Linked DNA regions of Homo sapiens: region 2 is linked to region 1. The links are contacts of gene promoters, found by promoter capture Hi-C in human tissues and cell types (Jung and others, 2019). All regions are on one chromosome and are shown on one strand. The core of a region is centred on a gene start or on the middle of the fragment in contact, and the rest is flanking DNA. Distances in the headings are between cores, read along the strand shown.

What was found. The method cuts DNA at HindIII sites, captures the fragments that hold promoters and counts their contacts. A contact is called where the count stands out against the background at its distance.
Region 2: a fragment that was not itself captured here is called in contact with the fragment with the promoter of ICAM5 in region 1 in 1 of the 25 tissues and cell types used here (liver).

What each region holds. Positions count from the first base shown.
Region 1 is chr19:10,286,675-10,291,201 of GRCh38, reverse strand. ICAM5 (intercellular adhesion molecule 5) reads right to left here and starts at 1,250. Exons shown (of 11, transcript NM_003259.4): 1 at 1,077-1,250; 2 at 1-130. The coding sequence starts at 1,158. It overlaps ICAM4-AS1 (ICAM4 antisense RNA 1), which reads left to right and starts at 2,183. Exons shown (of 1, transcript NR_186335.1): 1 at 2,183-4,527. ICAM4 (intercellular adhesion molecule 4 (Landsteiner-Wiener blood group)) reads right to left here and starts at 4,247. Exons shown (of 3, transcript NM_001544.5): 1 at 3,796-4,247; 2 at 3,364-3,666; 3 at 2,682-3,216. The coding sequence starts at 4,189. The coding sequence ends at 3,098. RefSeq lists a silencer at 2,326-2,395 and enhancers at 4,120-4,259, 3,606-4,527. The HindIII fragment of the contact is 10,372 bases long and covers 1-3,321 here.
Region 2 is chr19:10,610,879-10,615,405 of GRCh38, reverse strand. It overlaps a transcript of SLC44A2 not described here. Among named protein-coding and RNA genes, the nearest start is that of SLC44A2, 12 kb to the left of the region's middle. The HindIII fragment of the contact is 8,359 bases long and covers 1-4,527 here.

The DNA of each region.
Region 1 (4,527 bases), core at 1-2,500:
AGCGAGGTCTCCAGGCCACCGCGCTCCGGCCGAGGGCAGTTGGTGCTGCAATTCAGCCACAGCGAGCCCCCGCGCTCCACGAACGCCACGCGAGGCTGCAGGTCCGCCCAGAAGGGCTCCTGCGAGACCGCTGCCCAGGGAAACGCGGGCTGAGCCTGGGGAGCCAACTCCCTGACATCTTAGCGCCCCTATGTCGAGTCAAGGGTTCTCAGAGGGCGGGGAGGAGGAGGAGAGGCTGCAGCCAGGGAAAGAACCCAGGCGTCCCGCGTCCTGCCCAGGCCTCCGGTTTAAAGGCGCACTCCCAGAGTCTAAACCTCGAGGGTGTCTCTGGGACGTGGTAGCAGAGAGCCATGGTCTCCAAAGCGCCGATGGAGCGGCGGGAAAGCATGGGGGGAGGGCGTAGAGGAGAGGAAAGGTGGGTTCTTGGATGAACACAGCAAGGCTGAGAGAAGGGGACCCGGGATGGGGGATGGGGGATGAACCAGTTCTCAGGGTCCTGGCAGAATGCCGGGATACGAGGAGAGTGCGTTTGCGGCAAGGGCAAAGGAGAGACGAGGCTGGGTCAAGGATCAGGAAGGACCCTACACCCGGTGAAGAACACGGAGCCGGGACGCAAGGCTGGGCTCATGGAAGGAACCGCGGGAACAGCTGAGGGACCCGGTTGCCAGGGCTCTGGGTGGAGCGGGAACAGCGCCTCTGAGTCAGGGTAGTTGGAGAGATGGAGTCTTCGCGGACCGCGAGTGGGGAAGATGCCAGTCCGTGGACCATGGTGCACAGCACAGCGTAAGGAGGTACCCGGGGAGCGGACAGGAGAGACACTGGGTCTCCAGGGCGAAGGGTTGGGTGCGGAAGAACACCTAGGATCTCGAAGCGGGTAGGGGCTATCGAGGAGTCAGGAAGCTGGGGCTCGGGTGTGTGTTGGGGAGGAGGGGGAAGGGGAGAAGACTCAGGCTCGAGGTGGGGGCAGAGGCGTGGGAGCGAGGCGAGGGCAGAGCTGGGAGGGACAGGAGGCCGTTTCTCAGGTCCAGGGACTCCGCCCCCGCCCTGTCCACCCCGAACCAGAGCGGGGCTCTTACCTGAGAGGCCGAAGAGCCCCAGGCCCAGAGCAGCCCAGAGGCCGAGTAGCGCCCGGCGCAGCCCTGGCGAAGGCCCTGGCATCGCCGCGGCGGGGAAAGCACAGGAGGCGAGGAGAGCGCGAGCCGAGGAGCTGGGCTAGAGGACGGCTCCGCGCGGCGCGGCGGGTGGGGTGTGGGGGAGGCAGAGTTGCGCTTGGGGATTGGTTTAACGTTGGTAACTTGGTTTCCAAGGAGGGGGCGGCGGCAGAGGCGGCGGGGGGGCGGGAGGCGAGCGTGCGCTAAGCTCCTGGCCTTGGTGAAGGCGAGCTGGCAGGAGTGAGCGACCCCTGGGGTCTACGTGGAGGCCGGCATGATGGCCCAGGGCCTTCTGGGGGCGACCACGCTCTCTCGCGTCATCCCCGGCCGCGACTCTGGGATCGGGGGATGCTGGGTTGCCCTTCCCAAACCCCTACCCCAGCCCTGGCTGAGATGCCATGATAATAAGCTGGACTCCGAGCCCCGCCCCCACATTTAGCTCCTCCCACCAGCGCCCCTTAGGGCGGGGATACATTTGGGGACTAAGAGAGATTTGGGAGGCACTGGATGGGGAAAGGACAGTTCTAGGGGAGGGTGTGGGGATGCCTCTCTCACTGATCCTTCTCCTTTTGACCCCGCGGAGCCATACCTCTAAGCACCCCTCCGGGTCAGCTCCCGCACGCGACGGAGGGGGCGGGACGAAAGTGCCAGCGAGCCGAGGACACGTGTGCGTGCGCGCAGCGTTCGCGGGCGTCTAAATTAGAATCCGCTCGGCTCCGGGTCTGTATTTACCCAGGGTGCAGCGGGCACGTGTCTACTCAGCGTGTGTGAGCTCGAGCCACCCTGGAGCGCCCCTGAGTCCGCCTTCTGCTCGGTGGGTGGGGGCCCTGACATCCACGCGAGAACAAGGGACCGAGGGTGATGCTTTTGACTCCGCTTCCGGGCCCCAAGCTTTGACACCCCCCACCCCCAACTCCATGCGCTCATCTGGCTGGGTGACTACCAGAACATCGTCAGAATTCGAGTTTGTGATATTCCCTGTGGACCATCTGATCACCCCTTCCCGGCTGCCACCACATGGATACCTCTTCTGCGTATCCACGTCCCTCAATATGTCCGTGGGACCCTCCCCTCCCCACCATTCGTGGTCTCACTCCAGCGTGGTAAGTTATTTTGGAGATGAGTTCTCGCTCCACAGTTGTTTGGCCTCCAGGAAAGCACAGGGTCTGAAGGTGGGGCTGGGATAGGAAACTTAACATCCAATCAGAGCTGCCGCGTGGTGGCGGCGGCGCCAATCAGGAAAGCCATACCATGAACCCCACCCCGCCCCTGCCCGTGGCTCTCCCCGGCCCGCGCTGATCCCACTCGATAAGGCCAGCAGAAGGAGAGGTTTCTGTGACACCCGCTGGGGATACACAGAGTCTGGGGCTTCGGGACCCCAGGTGGGCCCTGAGTGAGGAAACCTCAGGTGCCCTCAGGGAGACAAGGAACTTGGAGAAAGTGATCGCAAAAACAACAACAACAACAAAAACAAACCAGTTCCTCCGAAGAAGGGCAGTAATGCGGACCCTTAGGTCACAGGACAGAGGCTGGTTAAGGAAGCCTTTATTGATTCCAGAGGGTTCCCCCGCCAATATTTATTTTTATTTTTATTTTATTTTTGGAGACAGGGTCGTGCTCTGTCCCCCAGGCTGGAGTGCAGTGGCACGATCAAGGCTCACTGCAACCTCGACTTTCAGGGCTCAAAGGATCCTCCCAACTCAGCCTCCCGGGTAGCTGGGACCACAGGTGCGGGCCACCACACCAGGCTAATTTGTGTATTTTTTGCATAGACGGGGTCTCACTATGTTGTCCAGGCTGGTCTCGAACTCCTGGGCTCAAGCGATTCTCCTGCCTCGGCCTCCCAAAGTGCTGGGATTACAGGCGTCAGCCACCATGTATGGCCATTTCCCCAGATTGTTTCATATTCCTCTTTTTCTCGCTCAGCCGGCATAGAACATCCCCCTTTACGCCTGGGACTTCATAGCTAGGCACTTGCATAGGTACGCAGCGCCCACAGTGAGGAGGATCCCTACAAGGGCAGCGATGGAACCGGAGGCCAAAGCTGTGGGCGCGGGGCTCCAAGCTGGGAGCAGAAGGCGAGAATTAGGAACGGAACACAGGGAGGTCTGTCGACCCGCGTGGAGCTCACGCTTGGTCTGTGCGCCCTCTCGGGGTCATAACTCTCTCTGCCCCCTTCCTCCTAGTCCCCAGGGTTACAGGGGTGCCTCACCGAGCATCAGTGTAATGGGTGCCGAGCTGTTGCGGACCACCAGGCCGTCGAGATTGAGGCGCGCGTGGCAGATCACGGGCTGCCAGAAGTCGCGGGGTCCAGCAGCAAACTCGTAGGTCAAGGTCACGTTGGCCAGATCCAGGCCGGTGAAGCGCTCCAGGCTTTCGGAATAGATGACCCGGCTTCCATGCCTCAGGGTCACCACCAAGTAGCCCACCGGGAACACCTGCGTCACGTGGCAGCGCAAAGTGTATTTCCTGCCCTTTAAGACCGGAGGCTCCAAAATCACGCTGTGGGGCGGTTCTAAGGCAAGGGGGAGCCTCTGAGTGAGGTCCGCGGGCGCTCCCTATAGAGCGACTGTCAACTACCCTTCCCCCACCTCTTCCAGCCCCCTCCCCTCACCCCAGCCGGGACCGAGCCCCTGTCCCTCACTGTAGGCGGTGATCCTGGAGGTGGCCCAGCGTGTTTTTCCTGCGCAGGTCACGAGGCAGTGCGCGAGGGAGCTCCAGGCCCTCACGTCGAGCAGCTGGTAAGACACCCAACCCGGCCCTCTGAGCGTCTTGCCTTGCCGCAGCGGGGTGCGGAGGCTGGAATTCTGCGGCTGGGGACAGCTGTTGCTGCAATTGAGCTGCACTGACTTCCCCGGCTGCACAGCCACGAACTCCGGGCTCATGCGCACCCAGAAGGGCACTGAGGTCCCGGAGGGCGCGAGAGGGCTACCCTTGGGGCTTTGCGCCCGCTTAGTCCGGCGTCCCAGCGCGCTCCCAACTCCCGGGTAGGCGGCCGCCAAAAAAAACAGCAGCGACAGAGGGAACAGAGACCCCATGGCAAAAAGCCCGGACTAAGGGGCCCCGCGCCAGAGAGCCAGGGCCGGCTCTAGAGATAAGGAGGCCCGCAGCCCCGCCTCCTCGACTCCACCCTGGAGAGGAAGGGGAGGCCCCAACAGAGGGCCCGGGAGTACTGCAAAAAGGGATTCCGCTCCCCAGGTCAAGAATAAGATTCCAGGCCTCATTAGAAACCAAATGTTTTTTTCTGGAGAGGAGTCTTTAGTTTTCACTAGAGACCCAGAAGGTCATAGAAAGTCCGATTTGGACCAGAACCTCAGGGTATGGCCATCAACCCACAATGTTTTCTTGGGGGAGGAAGTGGGAGGATCAGGCTGTG
Region 2 (4,527 bases), core at 994-3,493, 320 kb before region 1:
AATGGGGTTTCACCATGTTGGCCAGGCTGGTCTCAAACTCCTGACCTCAAGTGATCCTCCCACCTTGGCCTCCCAAAGTGCTGGGATTACAGGCATGAGCCACTGCACCTGGCCCCTAATTTTTTTTTTTATTTTTGGTAGAGACAGGATTTTCACCATGTTGGCCAGGCTTGTCTTGAAGTCCTGACCTCAAATGATCCACCTGCCTTGGCCTCCCAAAGTGCTATGATTACAGGTGTGAGCCACCACGCCCAGCCTCTGAAAACCTTTTTGATGATCCACTTCCACTTAATAAATAATAAATGTATTTTCTTTTCCTTACATTTTAATATTTTTTCCCTTAAAAGGAATGGCAAAAAAAAAAAACGCAATTACTTTTGCACCAACTTAATAACATTTTCTTTTCTTTTCTTCTTCTTTTTTTTTTTTTTTTTTGAGACGGAGTCTCATTCTGTCACCCAGGCTGGAGTGCAGTGGCGCAATCTTGGCTCACTGTGACCTCTACCTCCCGGGTTCAAGAGATTCTCCTGCCTCAGCCTCCCAAGTACCTGGGATTACAGGCACGCACCACCATGTCCGGCTAATTTTTGTATTTTTAATAGAGACGTGGTTTCACCATGTTGGCCAGGTTGGTCTCAAACTCCTGACCTCGGGTGATCCGCCCGCCTCAGCCTCCCAAAGTGCTGGGATTATCGGCGTGAGCCACCGCGCCCAGCCACATTTTCTTTTCTTCAGCTTACTTTATTGTAAGAATACGATATATATAATACAGAGACACAATATGTGTATGTTGATATGTTGTCCGTAAGGCTAAGAGTCAACAGTAGGCTATCACTAATTAAGTTTTGGGGGACTTATATGCAGTTATATGCAGGCCGGGCATGGTGACTCATGCCTGCAATCCCAGCATTTTGGGAGGCTGAGGTGGGAGGATCTCTTGAGGCCAGGAGTTGGAGACCAGCCTGATCAACAGATCACAACCCTGTCTCTACAAAAACTTAAGGCATACACAGATTTCTAATTTCACAGGGGGTTGGTGCCCCTCACACCCATGTGGTTTGAGGGTCAAATGCATTATTTCCTTTCGTTGCTGTAACAAGACACCAATGCCTTGGTGGCTTAAAAAAACACAAATTTATGGACGGGTGCGGTGGCTCATGCCTGTAATCCCTGCACTTTGGGAGGCCGAGGCAGGTGGATCACCTGAGGTCAGGAGCTTCAGACCAGCGTGGCCAACGTGGTGAAACCCCATCTCTACTAAAAATACAAAAAATTAGCTGGGCGTGGTGGTGTGCACCTGTAATTCCAGCTACTCAGGAGGCTGAGGCAGTAGAATTGCTTGAAACCAGGAAGCAGAGGTTGCAGTGAGCCAAGATCGCATCACTGCACTCCAGCCTGGGCAACAAGAGCAAAACTCGTCTCAAAAATAATAATAATAATAATAAATAAAAACCACAAATTTATTATCTCACAGCTCAGGAGGACAGAAGCACAAAATGCATCTCACTGGGCTACAATCGATGTGTAGGCAGGGCTGTTTCTTTCGGAGATTTTAGGGGAAAATCTGTTTCCTTGTCTGTTTCACCTTCTAGAGGCCGCCCACATTCCTTGGCTCCTGGCCACTTCTTCCATTTTTAAAGACAGCAATCACATCAAACCCACCTCGCTTCCGTCGTTCCATGTCCTCCTCTGACTCTGCTACCACCCTCTTCCATTTTTCTTAAAGAGACGGGGTCTCACTATGTTGCCCAGGCTGGTCTCAAAGTCCTGGGTTCAAGCAGTCCTCCTGCCTTAGCCTCCCAAAGTGCTTGAACTACAGGCATGAGCCACTACACCCAGCCAAAGTCTTCAACTTGGCCAGGCGCAGTGGCTTACACCTGTAATCCCAGCACTTTGGGAAGTCAAGGCAGGCAGATTACTTGAGGTCAGGAGTTTGAGACCAGCCTGTCCAACGTGGTGAAACCCCATGTCTACTAAAAATACAAAAAATTAGCCGGGCATAGTGGTGGGCGCCTGTAGTCCCAGCTACTCGGGAGGCTGAGGCAGGAGAATCACTTGAACCCAGGAGGCAGAGGTTGTGGCAAGCCAAGATTGCGCCACTGCACTCTAGCCTGGGTGACAGAGCAAGACTCCATCTCAAAAAAAAAAAAGAAAGAAAATAAAAAGTAAAAAATAACTATATTATCTGGGTGTGGTGGTGCATGCCTGTGGTCCCAGCTACTCAGGAGGCTGAGGTGGGAGAATCGCTTGAGCCCGGGAGGCAGAGGCTGCAGTGAGCTGTGATCACGCCACTGCACTCCAGCCTGGATGACAGAAAACACTGTCTCTAAAAAACCAAAACCAAACAAATAAAAATAACAAAACAAAAACTTCTCCAATCCCCACTAACCATTAGTGTGATCCCATTTCACGACGGGCACACTGAGGTTGCTTGCTCGGGCCACACAGCTGGTGAGGAGCACAGCCAGGAGTCAAACCAACGCCCTGCTGGAGCCAACCCAGGCCTTTTCCTTGGCAGGTACTGGGAGAAGCAGAGATAACGTTGCGGCAATGGTGTGGAAGAAAAATTGGGAAAATTGAGCTGTTGGACAAGGCCAGGATTGGGAGAGGCAGCCTTCGGGTGCCAGCCTTGCTGGCTGTGACGGCTGACCCACCCAAGTGCAGTGGGCGTGGGCGATAAGAGAACTGCCACAGCCTGCCCAGTCACAGTGCTGGTGCCAGGACATCAAATGCCACCCAGCCCCCACAGCTTCCGGACACTGGCCAAGTCCCCAAGGGCTGCAGCGGCCCAAGGCCTCACCCGTACAGCCAGCCACTGGCCTCTGCCTTCCCAGAAGTCTGTGCCTGGGGAATGAGCATCGCCAGCTGCCCAGACACCTCTTTTGACAAAGGGTTTGAGGACAGCATCTGGGTGGGGAGGCTCAGAAGGGTTAAGGGCAAAAGATAGAGCGCCTACTGTATGCTGGACTATGTTAGGCACCAAACCAGAGATTTGCTTCTAGAAACATTTAACCTTTTTTTATTTTTTATTTTTTGAGACAGGGTCTCCTTTTTTGCCCAGGATGAAGTGCAGGGGCGCAATCATAGCTCACTGCAGCCTTGACCTCCTGGGCTCAAGTGATCCTCCCGCCTCAGACTCCCTAGTGGATGGGACCACAGGCATGCACCACCACGCCCCGCTAATTTTTAATTTTTTGTTTTGCAGAAACAGGGTCTCACTATGTTGCCCAGGCTGGTATAAAATTCCTGGGCTCAAGTGATCCTTCCGCCCTGGCATCCCAAAGTGCTGGGATTATAGGAGTGAGCCACCACACCCGGCTCAGCCTAAGAAGCTTTAAAAAGATCCAGATGCCACACACACACAGAAATTAATAGGTCACAATCTGGAAGGAGACTTCTTGGCTGAGCTACCTCTGAGGTGAAAACAGCTAGCCAAAGATTTGTAGAAGATTCTTTCACATGGAAAGCTAAAATCTTCCATGGACTTGAGGACTTACTTATAATTAGCTTTTAGTCCCCCTGCCAGAACAGAGGGAATTTATTAATTTTATTATGTAAGAGTTTATTTGTTTACTTGTATATTTGAGATGGGGTCTCATTCTGTTACCTAGGTTGGAGTGCAGTGGCACAATGTCGGCTCACTGCAACCTCTGCCTCCTAGGCTCAAGCAATCCTCCCACCTCACCCTCCAGAGTGGCTCGGACCACAGGCATAAGCCACCATGACCAGCTAATTTTTTTGCATATTTTTGGGAAGAAGGGGTTTTGCAATGTTGCCCAGGCTAGTCTCAAACTCCTGGACTCAAGCGATCCACCCACCTTGGCCTCACAAACAGCTGGGATTATAGGAGTGAACCACGATCCACCCACCTTGGCCTCACAAACAGCTGGGATTACAGGAGTGAACCACTGCACCGGGTCTCTTGTTTGTTTATTTATTTATTTATTATTTTTTGAAATAGTGTCTCACTCTCTTGCCCAGGCTGGAGTGCAGTGGCGCAATCTTGGCTAACTGCAACCTCTGCTGCCCAGGTTCAAGCAATTCTCCTGCCTCAGCCCCCTGAGTAGCTGAGATTACAGGTACCTGCCACCACGCCTGGCTAAATTTTGTAGTGTTAGCAGAGATGGGGTTTCACCATCTTGGTCAGGCTGGTCTCGAACTCCTGACCTCAAGTGACCTACCCGCCTGGGCCTCACAAAGTGCTGGGATTACAGGCGTGAGGCACTGCACGCAGCCTAAAATAATATTTTAAAATAATGCTCTCTAGCCCGGCACAGAGGCACATGCCTATAGTCCCCTACTTAGGAGGTTGAAGGGGAAGGATCGCTTCAGCCGGGGAATTCAACCAGCCTGGGGAACATCATAAGACTCCCTCTCAAAAAAAATTTTTTTTTAAATTAAAAATAAATAAATAAATATCATGTTCACCTTGGGGATCGATTGGGAAATGGCAAAAGAAAAGTCTTGGCGGGGCGCGGTGGCTCACAACTGTAATCCCAGCACTTTGGGAGGCCGAGGCGAGCGGAT